Regions from separate parts of the Homo sapiens genome. Here region 2 is linked to region 1. Evidence: promoter capture Hi-C in human tissues and cell types (Jung and others, 2019). All regions are on one chromosome and are shown on one strand. The core of a region is centred on a gene start or on the middle of the fragment in contact, and the rest is flanking DNA. Distances in the headings are between cores, read along the strand shown. Region 1 holds the start of PLVAP (plasmalemma vesicle associated protein). Region 2 holds the start of NXNL1 (nucleoredoxin like 1).

Evidence for each region. Contacts are between HindIII fragments. The study calls those that stand out against the background at their distance.
Region 2: the fragment with the promoter of NXNL1 here is called in contact with the fragment with the promoter of PLVAP in region 1 in 1 of the 25 tissues and cell types used here (spleen).

What each region holds. Positions count from the first base shown.
Region 1 is chr19:17,374,790-17,379,005 of GRCh38, forward strand. PLVAP (plasmalemma vesicle associated protein) reads right to left here and starts at 2,553. Exons shown (of 6, transcript NM_031310.3): 1 at 2,131-2,553. The coding sequence starts at 2,499. It overlaps LOC105372298 (a long non-coding RNA gene), which reads right to left. Exons shown (of 3, transcript XR_936362.3): 3 at 4,001-4,041. The HindIII fragment of the contact is 34,336 bases long and covers 1-4,216 here.
Region 2 is chr19:17,459,280-17,463,527 of GRCh38, forward strand. It overlaps NXNL1 (nucleoredoxin like 1), which reads right to left and starts at 1,647. Exons shown (of 2, transcript NM_138454.2): 1 at 1,265-1,647. The coding sequence starts at 1,590. RefSeq lists an enhancer at 1,553-2,053. The HindIII fragment of the contact is 17,798 bases long and covers 1,129-4,248 here.

The DNA.
Region 1 (4,216 bases), core at 1,303-3,802:
TAATTTTTGTATGTATGTATGTATGTATGTATGTATGTATTTATTTTTAGACAGAGTCTCCCTCTGTTGCCCAGGCTGGAGTGCAGTAGTGAGATCTCGGCTCACTGCAATCTCTGCCTCCCAGGTTCAAGTGATTCTCCTGCCTCAGCCTCCCGAGTAGCTGGGACTACAGGCACATACCACCATACCCGGCTAATAATTTTTGTATTTTTAGTACAGACGGGGTTTCACTAGGTTGGCCAGGCTGGTCTCAAATTTCTGACCTCAAGTGATCCACCCACCTTGGCCTCTCACAGTGCTGGGATTACAGGTGTTAGCCAGTATGCCTGGCCTAATTTTTGTACTTTTTGTACAGACAGGGTTTCACCATGTTGCCCAGGTTGGTCTCAAATTCCTGGACTCAGGTGGTCCTCCTGCCTCGGTCTCCCAAAGTGCTGGGATTACAGGTGTGAGCTACTGTAGCCGGTCTTCAGCCACTTATTTGCAGCTTGTGTGTGCTGGACCCCTTTGATTAGTGCTGGCACATTCTGGGAGCTTCATGCATAGTAAGTTATGGGCTCAGGACTGCCAATTAACACACAGGAGGAGAATTAAACTTGGATTCCAAAAAGACAATGAATATTATTTTCAAAATTATATCTCAAATATTGCATGGAATATACTTACAGTTTAAAAAAAATGTTGCTGGCTGGGAATGGTGGCTCATGCCTGTAATCTCAGCACTTTAGGAGGGTGAGCCTAGGAGTTCAAGACCAGCCTCAGCAGCATAGTGAGATTCTGTCTCTAAAAAAAAGTTAGCCAGGGCACCAGGTCAGGGCACGGTGGCTCATGCCTGTAATCCCAGCACTATGGGAGGCCGAGGTGGGTGGCTCACTTGAGGTCAGGAGTTTGAGACCAGCCTGGCAAACATGGTGAAACCCCGTCTCTACTAAAAATACAAAAATTAGCTGGCATGGTTGCACACGCCTGTAATCCCAGCTACTCAGGAGGCTGAGGCAGGAGAATCACTTGAACCTGGGAGGTGGAGGTTGCAGTGAGGCGAGATTGTGCCACTGCACTTCAGCCTGGGTGACAGAGCGAGACTCCGTCTCAAAAAAAAAAAAAAAAATTGCCAGGTGTGGTGGTGCCCACCTGTAATCTCAGCACTTTGGGAGGTCCAGGAGGGAGGATTGTTTGAGCCCAGGAGTTCAAGACCAGCCTGATCAACATAGCGAGACCCCACGTCTACTAAAAATAAAAAATGACCTGGGCATAGTGGCATGTCCATAGTGCCAGCTACTCAAAAGGCTGAGGCAGGAGGATTGCTGGAGCCCAGGATGTCAAGGCTTCAGTGAGCTATGCTCACATCACTGTGCTCCAGCCTGGGTGACAGAGTGAGACCCTGCCTCCAAAAAAAAGAAAAGAAATAAAAAAAATTTAGCTGGACGCAGTGCCCCACACCTGTAATCCCAGCAGTTTGGGAGGCTGGGGTGAGAGGATTGCTTGAGCCCAGGAGTTCGAGACTAGCCTGGGCAACATAGTGAGACCTCATCTCTGCTAAATATAAACATATTAGCTGGGTGTGGTGGTGCACGCCTGTAGTCCCAGCTACTCAGGAGGCTGAGGCAAGAGGATCACTTGAGTCCAGGAGATTGAGGTTGCAGTGAGCTGTGATAGCAATTGCACTCCATCCAGCCCAGGATACACATGGAGACCCTGTCTCTTAAGGAAAAAAAAAAAATCTATCGGCCGGGTGCAGTGGCTCACGCTTGTAATCCCAACAATTTGGGAGGCCAAGGCAGGCGTATCACTTGAGGTCAGGAGTTTGAGACCAGCCTGGCCAACATGGTGAAACCCCATCTCTACTAAAAATACAAAAATGAGCCGGTTATGATGGCACATGCCTGTAATCCCAGCTACTCGGGAGGCTGAGGCAGGAGAATCACTCCAACCCAGGAGGCAGAGGTTGCAGTGAGCCGAGATTGCACCACTGCACTCCAGCCTGGGAGACGGAGCGAGACTCTGTCTCATAAGAAAAGAGAGCATTGGTCCTGTGATCGTCCCCCTCTCTTGGATGAGGAAACTCAGGCTCAGAGAGGTGAGGGGGCTTGCTCAGGGTCCCCAGGGCGAGTGTCCTGCCCACAGCCTTACCCGGTCACCCTGGCACTGGCGGAAGCTGGCATTGATGCGGTCCAGGTCGCGGCGAGCATTCAGCCACATCTGCATGATGGCATCCTTGGCGCGGGTGGTGAAGTTGAGCTCCTTGGTCAAGTTGGACTGGGAGGCCGTGAGCCCTAGGAGCTGACTGTATAGGCCCTCGGCTCGGCGCTCGGTGGCCTGCAGGTTGGACTCTGTGCTCACGTGCACGTTGCCATAGACCATGAAGAGCACGAGCCCCAGGATGATGAGGAATTGGATGAGGGAGACGAAGAGGAAGAAGTAGCGCAGGTAATACCAGCAGCCCCGAGAGCTGCCCCCCGCCCGAGCGTAGGACCCTCCGTGCTCCATGGCCAGACCCATTTGCTCGATCCCGCCGTCCGGTGCACCGTCCCTGCTCACCACCAGGCCTGCTCTGGCCCCCGCCTCGCAGGGGGGAGTGCTTATATTACTCCTCTTAATACTTCCTCTGCCTGGCTCCTTCCTGGCCCGGAGGAAACGGGGGCTGCGGGTTATCACAACACTCCCACTCTGGCTGTGAGAAGGCGGGGGTGGGGCTGGGGGCCCAGAGCCAGGGCACCGGCTGGACCCCTCTGATTAATGCTGGGTGGGGCGCTGGCTGGCTGGTCAGGCATTCCTGGCCTCTTCGAGCCTCGCGTTCGCCTTTACTTGCTGGCGGGTGCTGTTCTCAGTACCTGCTGTGATTAGGTCGCTGAATCATGCCAGGTCTGTTGCTGTCTCCCTTGTGTGGCGGAGGAAACTGAGGCACAGGGAGGAGAAGGGGTTGCCTCGGGGTCTCACGCTGTTAGTTCAGCGAACTTGACTTACCTCAAGACAGGCTGGCTACAGACGTGCACCCACTTCACCAGGGCGGTGCTGATTAAGTGCCACAAAACGTGGGAAATGTGCCAGGCACGGTGGCTCACGCCTATAATCCCAGCACTTTGGGAGGCTGAGGCGGACGGATCACCTGAGGTCAGAAGTTTGAGACCAACCCGGTCACCGTGGTGAAACCCCCCGTCTCTACTAAAAATACAAAACTTAGCCAGGTGTGGTGGTGCTCGCCTGTAATTCCAGCTACCCAGGAGGCTGAGGCAGGAGAATCGCTTGAACCCAGGAGTCGGAGGTTGCGGTGAGCAGAGATCGTGCCATTGCACTCCAGCCTGGGGTATAGAGCAAGACTCTGTTTCAAAAAAAAAAAAAAACAGAAAAAGTGTGAAACTCTTAGCTAGCCTAGGGATGGAGAAGCAGTAGGTGATTAGTAATTGCATAGGAGGGCGTCACGGAGGGCTGAGCCATGGATGGCGGTGGCGCTGGCTCCCCAAGCTCTGTCATTGCCCCCAGTGCCCTGTTCACTTAGATGCTCAGTAAATGCTCCAGGAAACTGCAGCACAAGGAATAATGAACTTGGAGCGGGGAAGAGCTGGCTTTGTCCCGGGAGAGCTCGGGCAAGAGGCCTCGCATGTCTGTGCCTCCCTTTTCCCCTTTGTGAGACGGGGTATACCCAGTGCCTCGTCACTCTGTGGCTGTTGTTATGATTAGGATCATTTCCTGCTGGAGGCACTGCTGGGGGCTCCGTGAGATGGTGAATGACAAGTGGTGGATACGTGGGACTGAGATTCCTCCCCCGACACTCAAAACCCCATGGGCGGCCGGGCATAGTGGCTCACACCTGTAATCTCAGCACTTTGTGAGGCTGAGGCAGGCGGATCACCTGAGGTCAGGAGTGCGAGACCAGCCTGGCCAATATGGTGAAACCCCATCTCCACTAAAAATACAAAAATTAGCCGTGTGTGGTGGCGAGCACCTGTAATCCCAGCTGCTTGGGAAGCTGAGGCAGGAGAACCACTTGAACCCGGGAGGCGGAGGTTGCAGTGAAGCGAGATCGGGCCACTGCACTCCATCCTGGGAGATAAGAGAGAAACTCTGTCTCAAAAACAAAAACAAACAAACCAAAAAAACCACGGGAGTTTTCTGGGGTCGCTGTGGGTCACCCCCCAGTTGGGCCTGGAGGGGATTTGGGGACCCGGAAGCAAAGGATTCTGTGTGTCCTGCCTATCTCCCAGGATCAGGAGCTCCA
Region 2 (4,248 bases), core at 397-2,896, 84 kb after region 1:
TTGTTCTTTCTCTGACAGCCTCCAAGCCTTTCTGCTGTGCCCTCTGCCTGGAACCCCTTCCCTTTCCTCATTCTCCATCCTCCTATCTTTCTTCTCATTGGAGTCTCCCTGTAATTTATTTATTTATTACATTTTTTATTTTTTATTTTTATTTTTGAGACAGAGTCTCACTCTGTTGCCCAGGCTGGAGTGCAGTGGCACCATCTCGGATCACTGCAACTTTCGCCTCCTGGATTCAAGCAATTCTCCTGCCTCAGCCTCGCAAGTAGCTGGGACCACAGCTGTGCGCCACCAGGCCTGGCTAATTTTTGTATTTTTAGTAGAGACAGGGTTTTGCCATATTGGTCAGGCTAGTCTCGAACTCCTGACCTCAGGTGATCTGCTCACCTTGGCCTCCCAAAGTGCTAGATTTACAGGTGTGAGCCACCGTACCTGGCCTTACTTTTTTAAGAGACAGGGTCTACCTGTATTGCCCTGGCTGGAGTGCAGTGGTGCGATCATAGCTCACTGCAGCCTCAAACTCTAGGCTCCAGTTATCCTCTTACCATAGCCTCCCAGGTGGCTAGGACTACAGGCATGAGCCACCGTGCCCAGCTAGGGGTCTCTCTTTAAAGCCACTTTTTCGGGGAAGCATCCTCTGACCCCGGAACCTCACCAAGGTTTCCCTCATTGTATTTCCACTTTGTGGCCTAGCTTTGTCCTCTGAGCACTACTGCAATTCGCTATTATATATTTGTTTTTTGATTTTTTAGACAGAGTCTCCCTCTGTCACCCAGGCTGGAGGGCAGTGGCACGATCTTACCTCACTGCAGCATCTGCCTCCCAGTTTCAAACGATTCTCCTGCCTCAGCCTCCCAAGCAGCTGGGATTACAGGCGCCCACCACCACGCCTGGATAATTTTTGTATTTTTAGTAGAGACAGGGTTTCACTATGTTGACCAGGCTTGTCTCAAACTCCCGACCTCAGGTGATCTGCCCACCTCGGCCTGCCAAAGTCCTGGGATTACAGGGTTAAGCCACCATGCCCGGCCTTGCTATTACATAGTTGATTCTGTCTTTTGCATCTGTTCCTCTCACTCGGCTCTAAGCTCCCTGGGGTGGCATGGAAGCCAGCATGTGGAAGTGGGCACCCCTGTCTGTACCCCCTAGTTCCCAGTATATGGACTGGCACACAGGGGCTGCTCATTCACTCTAGTTAGAATGGATGCTTCACTTTCAGCGAACATGCCCCCTCCTCCAGGAAGCCCTCCCTGCCCCTCCTCACCTCCTCAGATCATCCTCAAAGGGCAGGAAAAGCCATTTCTTTGGCATGTCCTTGAGGAACAGGTCCTGCTGCTCCTCCGTGGAGTCCTGGGACACGTACACCAGGGCCAGCTGAGCCGCCCGCAGTACATAGAACTCATCTGTGAGCCGCACGAAGAAGTCCTTGAGGATGGGCACGAAGGCCTGGCACTGTGGACAAGCCCCAGCACCAAAGAACAGCAGCACCAGCCGGTTCTCCAGCCTGCGACTGACCTCAGCCTCCGTATCCAGCTCGTCCTGGTCGCTATTGTTGCGGATCAGGATGCGGCCAGAGAACAGGGAGGCCATGGTAACCTGGGTTGGGTGCTGGGGACAGCGCGGCGTGTGGTCCCCGGTCTGCTGACTGGCTCCTCTCCCAGAAATAGAAATCTTTAGAAAACCAGCTTAGGACTTCACTAATCTGCCTAAACCTTGACCTGAGGGGCCTCTAAGGGCGGGGGGCAGGGCTCTCTGTGTGGCCCTTCTCAGGAGAGAGCCGCAAACGCATTAAGAAAACACGTAACAGATGGGCACGGTGGCTCACGCCTGTGATCCCAGCACTTTGAGAGGCAGAGGTGGGAGGATCATCTGAGGTCAGGAGTTTGAGACCAGCCTGGCCAACATGGTGAAACCCTGTCTGTACTAAAAAATAAAAAAATTAGCCAGGCGTGGTGGTGGGCACCTGTAATCCCAGCTACTTGGGCAGCCGAGGCAGGAGAATCGCTTGAAGCCAGGAGGCGGAGGTTGCAGTGAGCTGAGATTGTGCCACTGCACTCCAGCCTGGGCGACAGAGCGAGACTCCATCTCAGAAAAAAAAAGAAAGAAAGAAAGAAAAAAAACCAAAAAACCATGTAGCAGACAGTGACTCACGCCTGTAATCTCAGCACTTTGGGAGGCTGAGGCAGGAGGATCACCTGAGACCAGGAGTTTGAGAGCAGCTTGGGCAACAGTGTGAGACCCCATCTCTATGAAAAAATTAAAAACTTAGCTGGGCATGGTGTTGTCATGAGCCTGTAGTCCCAGCTACTCAGCTGAGATGGAAGGATCACTTGAGCCTGGGAGGTTGAGGCTACAATGACTGCACTACTGCACTCCATCCTGGGTGACAGAGCAAGACCTAGTGTCTAAAAATAAAAAATAGGCTGGGCACGGTGGCTCACGCCTGTAATCCCAAAGCTTTGGGAGGTCAAGGTGGGTGGATCACCTGAAGTCAGGAGTTCGAGACCAGTCTGGCCAACATGGAGAAACCCCATCTCTACTAAAAATGCAAAAATTGGCCAGGTGTGGTGGCTCACGCCTGTAATCCCAGCACTTTGGGAGGCTGAGGCAGGTGGATCACAAGGTCAGGAGATCGAGACCATCCTGACTAACACAGTGAAACCCCGTCTCTACTAAAAGTACAAAAAAAATTAGCCGGGTGTGGTGGCGGGCACCTGTAGTCCCAGCTACTCGGGAGGCTGAGGCAGGAGAATGGCGTGAACCCGGGAGGTGGAGCTTGCAGTGAGCCGAGACCGCGCCACTGCACTCCAGCCTGGGTGACAGAGTGAGATTCCGTCTCAAAAAAAAAAAAAAAGCAAAAATTAGACCGGGTGTGGTGGCTCATGCCTGTAATCCCAGCGCTTTGGGAGGCTGAGGCAGGCGGATCACCTGAGGTCAGGAGTTCGAAACCAGCCTGGCCAACATGGTGAAACCCCATCTCTACTGAAAATACAAAAATTAGCGGCTCGTGATGGCACATGCCTGTAATCCCAGCTACTCGGGAGGCTAAGGCAGGAGAACTGCTTGAGCCTGGGAGGCAGAGGTTGCAGTGAGCTGAGATTGCACCACTGCACTCCATCCAGCCTGGGCAACAGAGCGAGACTACATCTCAAAAAAAAAAAAGCAAAAATTAGCCAGGCGTGGTGGTGCATGCCTGTAATCCCAGCTACTTGGGAGGCTGAGGGAGGAGAATTGCTTGAACCCAAGAGGCGGAGGCTGCAGTGAGACAAGATTGTCCCACTGCACTCCAACCTGGGGGATAGAGTGAGACTCTGTCTCCAAAATAAAAATAAAAAAATTTAATATCTGACTTTTTTGTATGTATATTTTTTGAGACTGGGTCTCACTCTGTCAAGGTGCCCAGGCTGGAGTGCAGTGGTGTGATCATGGCTCACTGCAGCCTTGACCTCCAGGGCTCGGGCGATCCTTCTATTTCAGCGTCCCTGTTAGCTGGCACTAGAGTTCTGTGCCACCACGTCTGGCTAATTTTTTGTATTTTTAGTAGAGATGAGGTTTTGCCATGTTGCCCAGGCTGGCCTCCAAGTCCTGGGCTCAAGCAATCCTCCAGCCTCGGCCTCCCAAAGTGCTGGGATTACAGGCATGAGCATGCAACTGGCCACACCTTTTCATAAATATATTAAATCACATTGATTCACATGGACTCTACTAGTTACTTCAAGGTCTAAGTCAGGGTGAGCATCTGTGATATTTTAGGGTGTCTCCTATGATCAGGATGTGATATGAAATTATCTTTGATTTCCACAGGGGACAAAGTTCCAGGGCTAGCCAATGTCTGCATTCACAGTGAGAGGACCTGATGAATTCCAGTTAGAGGCTAATGAAATGGGCCGGGCACAGTGGCTCACACCTGTAATCCCAGCAATTTGGGAGGCCGAGGCGGGAGGATCACCTAAAGTCAGGAGTTCAAGACCAGCCTGGCCAACATATAATGAAACCACATCTCCACTAAAAAAATACAAAAATTAGCTGGGTGTGGTAGCGCACTCCTGTAATCCTAGGTACTCAGGAGGCTGAGGCAGGAGAATCGCTTAAACCCGGGAGGCAGAGGTTGCAGTGAGCTGAGATCACGCCACTGCACTCCAGCCTGGGTTACAGAGTCAGACTCTGTCTCTAAAAAAACAAAACAAAACAAAATGGGGGGACTGGGCGCGGTGGCTCATGCCTGTAATCCCAGCACTTTGGGAGGCC